Linked DNA regions of Homo sapiens: all the other regions are linked to region 3. The links are contacts of gene promoters, found by promoter capture Hi-C in blood cells and fetal thymus (Javierre and others, 2016). All regions are on one chromosome and are shown on one strand. Each heading gives the region's core, a stretch centred on a gene start or on the middle of the fragment in contact. The rest is flanking DNA. Distances are from core to core; before and after follow the strand shown.

Region 1 (3,398 bases), core at 461-2,960, 4.5 Mb before region 3:
TAATACACAAGATATAGCAATATCCATTAGAACCATGAAGACGAAAACCAAAATAATCAGCTAAAAAAGGTGAAAATGAGTGTCATTAGGGAAGAGAAATTGGGAAATACAGTTGTTATTATTTAACTGTTTAACTCTTTTCTTTTTTTTTTTTTTTTGAGACAGAGTATCACTCTGTCACCCCAGGCTGAAGTGCAGTGGCACAATCTCAGCTTACTGCAACCTCTGCCTCCCAGGTTCAAGCGATTCTCCTGCCTCAGCCTCTCCAGTAGCTGGGATTACAAGCGCCCGCCACCACACCCAGTTAATTTTTGTATTTTTAGTAGAGACGGGGTTTCACTATGTTGACCAGGCTGGTCTTGAACTCCTGACCTCAAGTCATCTGCCTGCCTGGGCCTCCCAAAGTGCTGGGATTACAGGCGTGAGCTGCCGTGCCCAGCCTGAACTATTTAACCCTTCAAAAACCATGATAAAACTAAAAAGTGAGTGAATAAATAAAAGTGAGAAAAGATGGAAATTGTGAAGTAGGGAGGGTGAGTAGATGGGAAATAAAAATAATCTTTAGCTTTTAGGAACTAAAAATAAAAACAAAATTTTTAAAAGGATTATAAACAGAGGAGAATATGTTTATAGCCTTGAATTGGGCTAGGTTTTTCTAAGCAACATTAACACCCAAAAGGTATAATGGAAATATTGGTATATTTTATCTCCTAAAAATGTAAAACATTAGTACAACAAAAGGTACCAAGAAGTTAAAAGTGACTAGGGAAAAATACTTGTAGCATACTTAAGAAAAGACAATATGTACAATATATGAACTGTTTCTAAAATTAACAAGAAACAACCCAAGAACAAAACATGAGTAGTCAAAGAAATACAGATGTTTAGTAAACAAAAGAAGTAGCTATCATACTAGTAATCAACACAGTACAAATTAAAATTATTTTCCCTCAAATGGCAAAAGTGTAAAAATTGAAAACTGCGTATCTTACATTGATCAGACAAATGGACATTTGCCTCAAAGCCTCTTGGTAAAAGTATAAACTGGCCAAAGTAATTTTCACAGGATTTTAAAACTATAATATCTTTGACCCCTAGAATTCCACTTGTAGTAAGCTAGCCTACAGAAATGTATGCACATACACTGAGAAACATTTAACACGAATATTCACTACAGCACTGTGTATAGTAACAGAAATTGTTACAGCCTAACATCTACACATTATGCAATTTTTGCAATTTTTTAAAAACACAAGAAAAAAGAAATAAGTATACCTATATTAAAGACAAAGATTCCCAAAACATGTAGTTATATCTAAAAAAAAAAAAATCAGGATATGTTTCTTTGCATGCAAATACAGGAAGATACACAGAGGATTACGAGGGCCAAACTATTTCAGTAGTTACGTTTGAGGAAAGGGCAACGGGAAAGCAAGTATGAGAAGGGAGTTTTTCATTTCTTGCTCTACATCTTTTTATATCATTTAAATCTTTTAAATGATTATGCCTTCATATATTTTTGAAGAATTGTTTAAGGCATAAAATTTTAACCCCAGTTTTGTAGAAAGCTTTATTTACTTGGAATTTGGAATCAAAATTATTTATGAACTATTGCATTATCCCTGAGACTCTAACATTAAGTGCTTGAAAATACAGACAAAGGTAAGTTGCCACAGAGCACCCGTGCATACCTGGCAACCTGTAAAGGCTGTTCACTCTGGAGTGTCTGCTTATCTGCAGCCAAATCCCAGAGTGCTGGTGGGGCCAGGCCAGTGTCAGATTCTTTAATACCTACATAGAGAAAGATGACAAAATTTACTAAAATGTAATGCATCACCCTATAATAAGCTTTCTAAACCTCAGCACTACTGATATTTTGCACTGAATCATTCATTGTGAGGACTATCATGTGCATTATAGACTGTTTAGTAGCATCCCTGGCCTCTCACCACTAGACGCCAGCAGCACCACCCTCTCTCAAAGTCATGACAATCAAGGATGTCTCCAGACATTGCCCAGTGTCCTCTGGGAGGGGTTGGGAGGGTGGGGCAAAATCACCCCAGCTGAAAACTACACCCTGCCCTAAAGTAATTGTCAAGCCAAAAATATAATGCCACATTTGACATTTTTGTGTAGGTCAAATATTATAAAACTTCATCATTCAAGTTCCCCCCAAAAAGTTCCAGGAAAGAGCCCAATTACTTGAAGCAAAACTATGTTGTGAGATCTTATTTTTATCCAAAAAAGTTTTTTGACTTGTTAACTGAAGTTTACTGAACTGGGTTTTGACCAACAGAAATATTACTGGCTTAGAAGATGGTACTATTTCTTATTTCTTAACTGCATAAGCATTAAACCTGGTTGTAAAAAGCAGTGAAAGATATGGTTAAATGAGATCTAATTTCTTAACAGAAAGGAAGAATAATGATTTTTTTTAAATCTGTAATCATGAAGGAGTAAAATCTGTATTTAAACTCTTGATATTATTCACACATTACATTTAAAGGAAGGAAATGGGAATTTAAAAATACATACCAGTGAGCTCATTAATTTTCTTGAGAAGTTGCTGAATGTCATCTTCAACTTGCTTGATCTGCCTAGAGTAAGTGCTCTGACCCTAGGTGATGAAGGTCAGTTTAGTTAGAATATCAGGATATCAACCATTTATTAAAACTACAGGTAAAAATTATTTTTAAGTTACAATTTCAATAGCTATCATTATCCCAAAGCTTGTGAAGTAGAGAGGTATTCCTGACCCAATATTTCCCCCTAAATACACAATCCACTATTATGCAAGATAACAAATGAAAATCATGGCCAGGCATGGTGGCTCATGCCTATAATCCCTGCACTTTAGGGGGCGGAGGCGGGTGGATCACCTGAGGTCAATAATTCAAGACCAGCCTGGCCAACATGATGAAACCCTGTCTCTACCAAAAATACAAAAAATTAGCCAGACGTGGTGGTGGGCGCTCATAATCCCAGCTACTCAGGAGGCTGAGGCAGGAGAATCGCTTGAACCCAGGAGGCGGAGGTTGCAGTGAACCAAGATCGCGCCATTGCACTCCAGCCTGGGTGACAAGAGCAACACTCCGTTTCAAAAAAAAAAAAAAAAAAAATCGTGTGTGAAATTATGCAAAACTATCGATTTCTATGCATTAAAACTTCATTTCAGAACTAATTCAGTAATACTTGTTAAATATAGTAAACTTGTGTAAATGATTTCAAATATCTTTCAATATAGCATCACATTTTAATCACGAATAGTATTAAAATAATACATAAACTGAGACATGCCAAATACTTTGATCTATTCTATAAACTTTAGGTAGGTAACTTCATTTAGTGAAGATTACTAGAAGCTGCCAGACATTCTTTTCTAATTGTTTCTTTTTATT
Region 2 (3,766 bases), core at 1,120-3,619, 4.2 Mb before region 3:
CTCACTTCCCAGGTGGTGGGGCGGCCGGGCAGAGGTGCTCCTCACTTCCCAGACGGTGGGGCGGCCGGGCAGAGGCGCTCCTCACTTCCCAGATGGTGGGGCGGCTGGGCAGAGGTGCTCCTTACTTCCCAGATGGCGTGGTGGCCGTGGGCCCTCAACTTTAAAATCTGGCAAGTACATTGAAGGTTATGCTGGCTGTATGTTTGAGGCAGGCTTCCTCTTCCTTCCCTGAGATTATGAAAGACTCACTCTGCCTTGTAGGAGTTGATGTTCTAGCTCCTCAGCCTCCTGTGTGAACACTCCCAGAACTCACTGCCTTATGGGAGACAGTGGCCACACTTGGGGCACCTCAAGTTTCTAACCTGTCATGTTACCCCCGTGCCACCACCATAAGCCTATTGGTTTCTCTTCCCATTTGTAGACTTTCTCTGCCTGGGCCCAGCCCTGTCCTCTTTCCTACCCAGAGCTGGCACACGTTCCCAGGGAAAAAAAGCAGCTGTGCATTGTCAGCTCACTTCAGAAAAATTTCCTTCCCCTGGAATTCCATGGCTCGCCAATATCTTTTTTAAATGTGATTTTTGTAATGTGTCTGTTTTTTTCTAGTTGTTGTAGCAGGGTCATTGGACCATGGTGACTTTCCACATCCTACTCAGATATGAAATCCTAGGGAGACTGTCTTGTTTCACTCCTCAGTTTACCTCAGATCTAGAGATAGGTTAGGTGTCTTCCTTGGCTCCCCATTTCCACTTCCAAACTATGTATCTTCCCTCCTTTTTCTAAAGTCTCAGCTTCTTTGTAGTTCATAACATCAGATTTAGCACTCACTGTCTTCATTATGTACCAATCTCTATGTTTTGTTGGTAGCATTAGCATCTGGCTCACCATCTTCCTTTTTCTCTACTCCTGTCATTGTTCTTGTGCCCGCAGTATTCACAGGGATGTTCCGTTCACATCCTTGACCTTTCTTCCAGTTATCTTTGCTTTCACCGTTCCTCAGTCATGTCCTTCTATGGTCATACTCTTAACCATTTTATCCTAAATTGCTGTACCATCTCTGAAATCTCCATTTCTTCATCCACTTATCTCTTAATTTCTTAGCTCACTCACATTGGAGCTTCTACACTAGCACTTCTTCAACTGACTCAAACCACCATTTCATTCAATTATCTTTGCACTGTCAAATATTACTCTTATGTCCTTATTTCTCTCTTTACCCATCTTAGATTCCTTGGTTCATCATTATTGTGGATGTCTATTACCTAAATGTCTTTACAACATTTAGTGATTTAAAATAACAGTATTCATTTTATTATTGCCTCTCACAGTTATGGGAGTTGACAGAATATTATTGCTTGAGATCCCTCATGCACTTACATGTCAGAGTGGCTGAGGTTAAAATCATCTTGAAGGCTTCCTTACCTACATGCCTGGCAGTTGATGCTGGCTGTCGATGAGGACCTCTCCTGAGACTGACAGGTAGAACATCTATGTGTAACATCTCCATGTAGCTTGAGCTTCCTCACAGCGTGGAGGCTGGGTCCCAAAACAGGTGTCCAAGAGACAGAGCCAAGTAAAATCTCCTTTTATAACCTAGCCCCAGAAGTTACTCAACATCACTTTCACTGTATTCTCTTCATTACAAGTGGATTATTAAGACTAATCCATATTCAAGAGGAGAGGAATTAAACCCCACCTCTTTATGTAAGAAATATCATTTGCAGACATGCTTTTAAAATGCCACCACACCATCATTATGATCACTTTCAAATACGATTATCTCCTTTACCTGTTTCTCCCTCTGTCCTATTGATGTGACAAACACCCATCCCTGGTAAAACTCAAATATCCAGCAGTCCGTGCTTACCCCTGAGCAACTGAACATTATTTAAAGGAAGAACACACAATTAAACTGAATTGTGTCACTTTAAATTCAATCCTCAGTTGTCAAATGGGCTCTCAATATCCATAGTCCTACATTTCCTAGTATTTTCAGTTTCTGACAATTCCATTACACCCACAGTGAAAGAGTAGACAAAAAAAAAAAAATTCTTGGGAGGCCGAGGCGGGCAGATCACCTGAGGTTTGGAGTTCAAGACCAGCCTGACCAACATGGAGAAAGATCACTAAAAATACAAAATTAGCTGGGCGTGGTGGCGCATGCCTTTAATCCCAGCTACTCGAGTGGCTGAGGCAGGGGAGTCTCTTGAACCCAGGAGGCGAAGGTTGCGGTGAGCTGCGATCACGCCATTGCACTCCAGCCTGGGCAATGAGAGCGAAACTCCATCTCAAAAAAAAAAAAAAAAATCCTCACAAAATTCTTCCACTGAATATTAAAAAATCAATTGCATTTCAATTCACTAGAACCAAAGTTTTAAACAGTAGCTTTTAAAAATTACATTCATAGGCTGGGCGCAGTGGCTCACGCCTGTAATCCCAGCGCTTTGGGAGGCTGAGGCGGGTGGATCATGAGGTCAGGAGCTTGACACCATCCTGGCTAACAAGGTAAAACCTCGTCTCTACTAAAAATACAAAAAAAATTAGCTGGGCGTGATGGCGGGCGCCTGTAGTCCCAGCTGCTCAGGAGGCTGAGGCAGGAGAATGGTGTGAACCCGGGAGGCAGAGCTTGCAGTGAGCCGAGATCGCACCGCTACATTCCAGCCTGGGCAACAGAGTAAGACTCTGTCTCAAAAAAAAAAAAAGAAATTACATTCATAATAGCCACAAAAAATATAAGGTTTCTTAGGACAAGATGTGAAAGACCTGTTTGGAGGAATTTGTAAAATTTTATTGAAAGATGTTTAAGGTGACCTAAAGAAATGAAGTACTCTGCTGTGTTTATGAATGGGAAAATAACAACATGTAATGTCTTCCCAGAAAATGTATAAATTCAATGCAATTTTAGTTAAAGTCTAAAATTTTTTTCCCCATAAAACTAGACAGCTGATTATAATACTGCAGAAATATTGAGGAGGAGAAAAGTAGCCCTTGACACCTAGAAGCTGGACTGGTGTCATGATCTAGACCTTGGCATTGCTTTGGGCTAGCATGTTGTTAAGCCTTGTCAGTGCTGGAGGGACCCTGGAGGGAGAGGGACTTCAGTTCCTGGTTCCTGTGTGCTTCCTCACTTCTTGTTCACATGACACAGCTTCCAGGAGCATGTGTGTGGTGCACCCAGTGGTGCCCACTCTTCAGCAAGTTTTGCTCACCAGCCTCAGCCCATTGGCACCCCAGCAGGGGGCGTCTGCTCACTAGTGTGAGCTGGTGGGGTCCTGTTCACCAAGCCTTGGACCATCATGGCTGAGAACTATCTCTGTCTCAGGGCAACCTAATGGACTTCCCCACTATACCTCAGCCACACTCCACATTCTCTGAATCTCAGCCTTGGGGAGGTGGCTGCCCTCCTTCCAAGGTTATTTCATCTTTGGGTACTCTGTCTGAGCCACAGGGTGTCCTTTAGTGTTCTCTTTTGCTCTTAGTAGTTACTCTCTTTTTACTAGTTAGTAATTCTTTGAATTGCATTCTTTATTAGAATCTCTTTATGAGATAGAATAAATTGTTCTTTATTCAAAACACGGGTGTGATTTCTGTCTCTTGACTGGACTCTGAGTGATACAGGAGGATTAACTGGAGAGGGACATGAGAACTTTCCGGAGAGTTGGAAAGAAACCACACCCGGGGTGTGGGTATTTTCATTATCAAAATTATACTAATAAGATTTATGCATTTGAAATAATATAAATTTTACCTTAAATTATAATTGAGAATA
Region 3 (3,756 bases), core at 575-3,074:
ATAGCAGTGGGGCCAGTGGGGCCCATTCTTAGGGAAGCTCACAGCTGTCCCAGAGCCAGGGGCCCTTTAGACCAGTAGTCCCCAACCTTTTTGGCACCAAAGACAATGTTTCCACGAATGAGGGGTTGGAGGGATGGTTTCGGGATGATTCAAGCGCATTACTTTTATTGTATACTTTATTTCTATTATGATTACATACTCACCATCATGTAGAATCAGTGGGAGCCCTGAGCTTGCTTTCTTGCAACTAGATGGTCCCATCTGGGGATGATGGGAAACAGTGACAGAACATCAGGCATTAGATTCTCATAAGGAGCACGCAACCTTGATCCCTCACGTGAGCAGTTCACAGTAGGGTTTGCGCTCCTATGAGAATCTAATGCCCTGCTGATCTGCCAGGAGGTGGAGCTCAGCGTGGCTCACAGGCCCTGCTCACCTCCTGCTGTGCAGCCAGTTCCTAACAGGCTATGGACTGGTACTGGCGGCCAGGGGCTTGGAGACCCCTGCTTTAGACGCCTTGATGTCAATGCACTGGGTGGTGCAGTGATGGTCCATCCGTGCTCCACGGGCCAGAGAGGAGGTCAAAGGCCCTCACTGTGTGGGAGGATCCCTCGCCCAGGTAGCCGTAGCAAAGCGGAAGCATAGCTGGGACCAGAACCCACCGGGCTTCCAGCGTTTAAGGCCAGCCAGGCCCCTCCAGCTTCTAGGAGAGCCCAGCCCTGCTCCTCTAAGGCAAATGGCAGTAACTGTGTAGGCTGGTCACCCCTCACCGCAGTAGCCTGACTCCCACAAGGCCCTCAGTGACAAAGAAGTTGCCCTGGGCCCAGATACGAGCAGGAGCCCCATCTTAACAGCAGCTGTGAGAGGGTAAACCGGGGGATGACATCAAGCCCACGGCAGGGGCCGGGTGCTCAGGCCCCTCTATCAAGAAGGGGCAAGAGGCTGGGCACAGTGGCTTACACCTGTAATCCCAACATTTTGGGAGGCTGAGGCGAGAGGATCACTTGAGGCCAGGAGTTTGAGACCAACCTGGCCAACATGGTGAAACCCCGTCTCTACTAAAAATACAAAAATTAGCCAGGCCTGGTGGCGGGCACCTGTAATCCCATCTTACTAGGGAGGCTGAGGCAGGAGAATCGCTTGAACCCGGGAGGCGGAGGTTGCAGTGAGCCGAGATCGCGCCATTCTGGGACAGAGCGAGACTCTGTCTCAAGATTAAAAAAAAAAAAAAAAGAAAAGAGGAAGCAGCAGCAGCAGCAGCAGCAAGAGGAATTTCGAGGCCTTTCGCCCAACGCCTGGCGCACCTTAAGCTCTCAACAGTTCTTGAATGAGGAGTAGCATCTCGGAGCCACGAGCGTGCAGAGAGAAGGCACCTGGAGGAGAGCCCCAAGGGACCTGCAGGCGGCTTGCAGCGCAGCGCACGCCCCTGGGGACGCTGAGTCAGAGCCGGCGGCATCGGATCCAGGGCGGGGAGGGGCTCGGGGGAAGGGAAAAATGCGGGTGCGGGGGGCGTGGTTTCGGGTAGTGGAGGGGAAGGATGCGGCCGGGGGTGGATTTGGGGTGGGGAGGGATGCGGGGAGGAGCCAGGGCGCAGGAAGGGAGCTCTGGAACCCCTAGAGGGGAAGCAAGCTGGGAGGGGCGATCGTGGACTCCAGGAGGGCAGGGGGCGCGGCCGTGGGAAGAGACCCGGAGAGGGAGGACGCGGCCGTGGAGAGGGACGCGGGAGCAAGGGGCGGCGGGAGGAGGAGGAGGGCGCGCGGCGCGGCTGACGTGGGCCGGGGTCGCGCAGCGGGCTGTGGGCGGCGGCGGCGGCGCGCAGCGACAGAGCGTCCCCCGGCGAGGACGAGCGAGCACGGCGCCCGCACCTCCCCGCACCGCCCGCGCTGCGCGCCCGGAGGAGCGACCGCCGCAGTTCTCGAGCTCCAGCTGCATTCCCTCCGCGTCCGCCCCACGCTTCTCCCGCTCCGGGCCCCGCAATGGCCCAGGCAGTGTGGTCGCGCCTCGGCCGCATCCTCTGGCTTGCCTGCCTCCTGCCCTGGGCCCCGGCAGGGGTGGCCGCAGGTAAGGCGCTGGGCAATCCGGCCTCCCTGCAGCCGCAGCCCGCCCGGGGCCTGGAACCGTCTCAGCGGGCGAGTGGGCCCGGGAGCAGGGATTGCGGAGGTGGCACCGTGCGCCCTGCGCGCATCTCCCTCCTCGGCTGAGGCCACTGCAGCGCCCTTTCCCCTCTCCTTTCATCCTTGTTCCCCAAAGTCGCCTGGGCACTGGAGGGGGCTCCCCGCACCCCCTGGATTCCTGCTTCCACCCCCCCAGGCTGGCCCTGCCCTGGAAACCGCGCGGGGGTGGCCGGCGCATCCGTCGATGCCTGGGGACCATGCACCCGCTAAGGGAGGGGAGGACGAGGCAGGGAGGCGGGGATGCGCCAGGGTCCGTCATCGCGCCACAATTCCCCAGTCCCCCAGGGAGCACGGGATGGGCAACGTTTTTGCCTTAAAATGTCGCCTCATCTAGAGGGGTTTCCCACCGTGTTGGTGCTGGCTTTGGGGAGATGCGAATTTAGAGCCCAGGAGGCCAGGCTGCCATTTCCTCTCTGGTGGTGATTTCCAAAATGGACCCGGAGCTGACAGGTTCCTGGGGTGTGTGTGTGGGTGGGGGAGTGGGGGAAGCAGGGTTGTGTGTCTACTGCCCCCACTTCCCCACCGCCAGAAAGCCAGCACCCACCTCTCTGCCACATTTTGGGAACCATAAAAGGACCCAGATTTAAGACTATTCGAGGGACAGATGGGACGTGGGCAGCTAAGAAGGTTGAATACTATCCACCACTTTTCACCCCCTCCCCCCTCATAAAAGAGCGGTGGAGAGAGAGAGCAAGGGATCTAATGAAAATTTGTGAAAGAAAAACCATGAGGTCAAAGAAAACCTGCAACTCAGGGATGAATTAGACGAATTTTATGGGAATTGCACTTGGACAAGATTACCTATTTCCTCCTGGAAATACAGGAAAGGGGTCTCTTGTCCATCAGGTTGATTTGTGTCAGAGATTTTCAATGTGTCCTAAATTGCAAAAGAAAAAGAAAATAATAACAAAAGTGAATTAATTATTTGGAAATCATGTGTGGTTCCCATTCTAGCCAATTGCACCCTTGATGTGGTCAAAATCACAGTGGCTAAGAGTGGAGTTGGGAAACATCTTCTCCCTCACCCGTCGGGGAGACTTTTCTACCCTTCCCCTTTCTGGAGTCCATGAATCAGGGATTTGTAAGTCAGAAGTCCATGTACTGGACTATTAATTAATTCTGGGTTGTGTTATCCAGACTTTAGAGGTACTCTTTGGAAGTGTTTTGGGTAGTCTGCATATTCTGTGTGAAAGGACTGGTGTAGCCATTTTCTAGAATGTTCAGGGCTGCACATGCTGTGTTGCTGGAAAAGGTAGGTGTTTCTTCCATGGGCCAAGCTTTGGGGTGAGTGCCCCATCTCTTTTTGCTTTTGCCCCTTGAGCTCTGGGTGACTTGGGGGGCCCTTGGAGTCCCCTAAACCTCTGCCTTGGCTGCTCCATACCCCAACTCCATGTCACATGGACTCCCAAACATGGAAAGATGAATTTGTTTGTTTGAGATGCAGTCTTGCTCTGTCACCCAGGCTGGAGTGCAGTGGCACAATCTTGGCTCACTGCAACCTCCACCTTCTGGGTTCAAGAAATTCTCCTGCCTCAGCCTCCCAAGTAGCTGGGATTACAGGCGCCTGCCACCACACCTGGCT

The links. The method cuts DNA at HindIII sites, captures the fragments that hold promoters and counts their contacts. A CHiCAGO score of 5 or more calls a contact.
Region 1: a contact is called between a fragment that was not itself captured here and the fragment with the promoter of TMEM130 in region 3, in 1 of 17 cell types (total B cells). The highest score is 5.5, in total B cells.
Region 2: a fragment that was not itself captured here is called in contact with the fragment with the promoter of TMEM130 in region 3 in 1 of 17 cell types (total CD4 T cells); the score reaches 6.9 in total CD4 T cells.

Annotation. Positions count from the first base shown.
Region 1 is chr7:103,354,087-103,357,484 of GRCh38, reverse strand. PSMC2 (proteasome 26S subunit, ATPase 2) reads right to left here. Exons shown (of 12, transcript NM_002803.4): 3 at 2,536-2,617; 4 at 1,692-1,791. It also overlaps a transcript of SLC26A5 not described here. Among named protein-coding and RNA genes, the nearest start is that of PSMC2, 8.1 kb to the right of the region's middle. The HindIII fragment of the contact is 280 bases long and covers 1,571-1,850 here.
Region 2 is chr7:103,065,330-103,069,095 of GRCh38, reverse strand. The region is part of intron 1 of FBXL13 (F-box and leucine rich repeat protein 13); the gene reads left to right. Among named protein-coding and RNA genes, the nearest start is that of FBXL13, 7.6 kb to the left of the region's middle. RefSeq lists a silencer at 3,100-3,394. The HindIII fragment of the contact is 5,499 bases long and covers 1-3,766 here.
Region 3 is chr7:98,868,082-98,871,837 of GRCh38, reverse strand. It overlaps TMEM130 (transmembrane protein 130), which reads left to right and starts at 1,824. Exons shown (of 8, transcript NM_152913.3): 1 at 1,824-2,061. The coding sequence starts at 1,977. RefSeq lists enhancers at 1,754-2,339, 2,340-2,926. The HindIII fragment of the contact is 4,583 bases long and covers 1-3,453 here.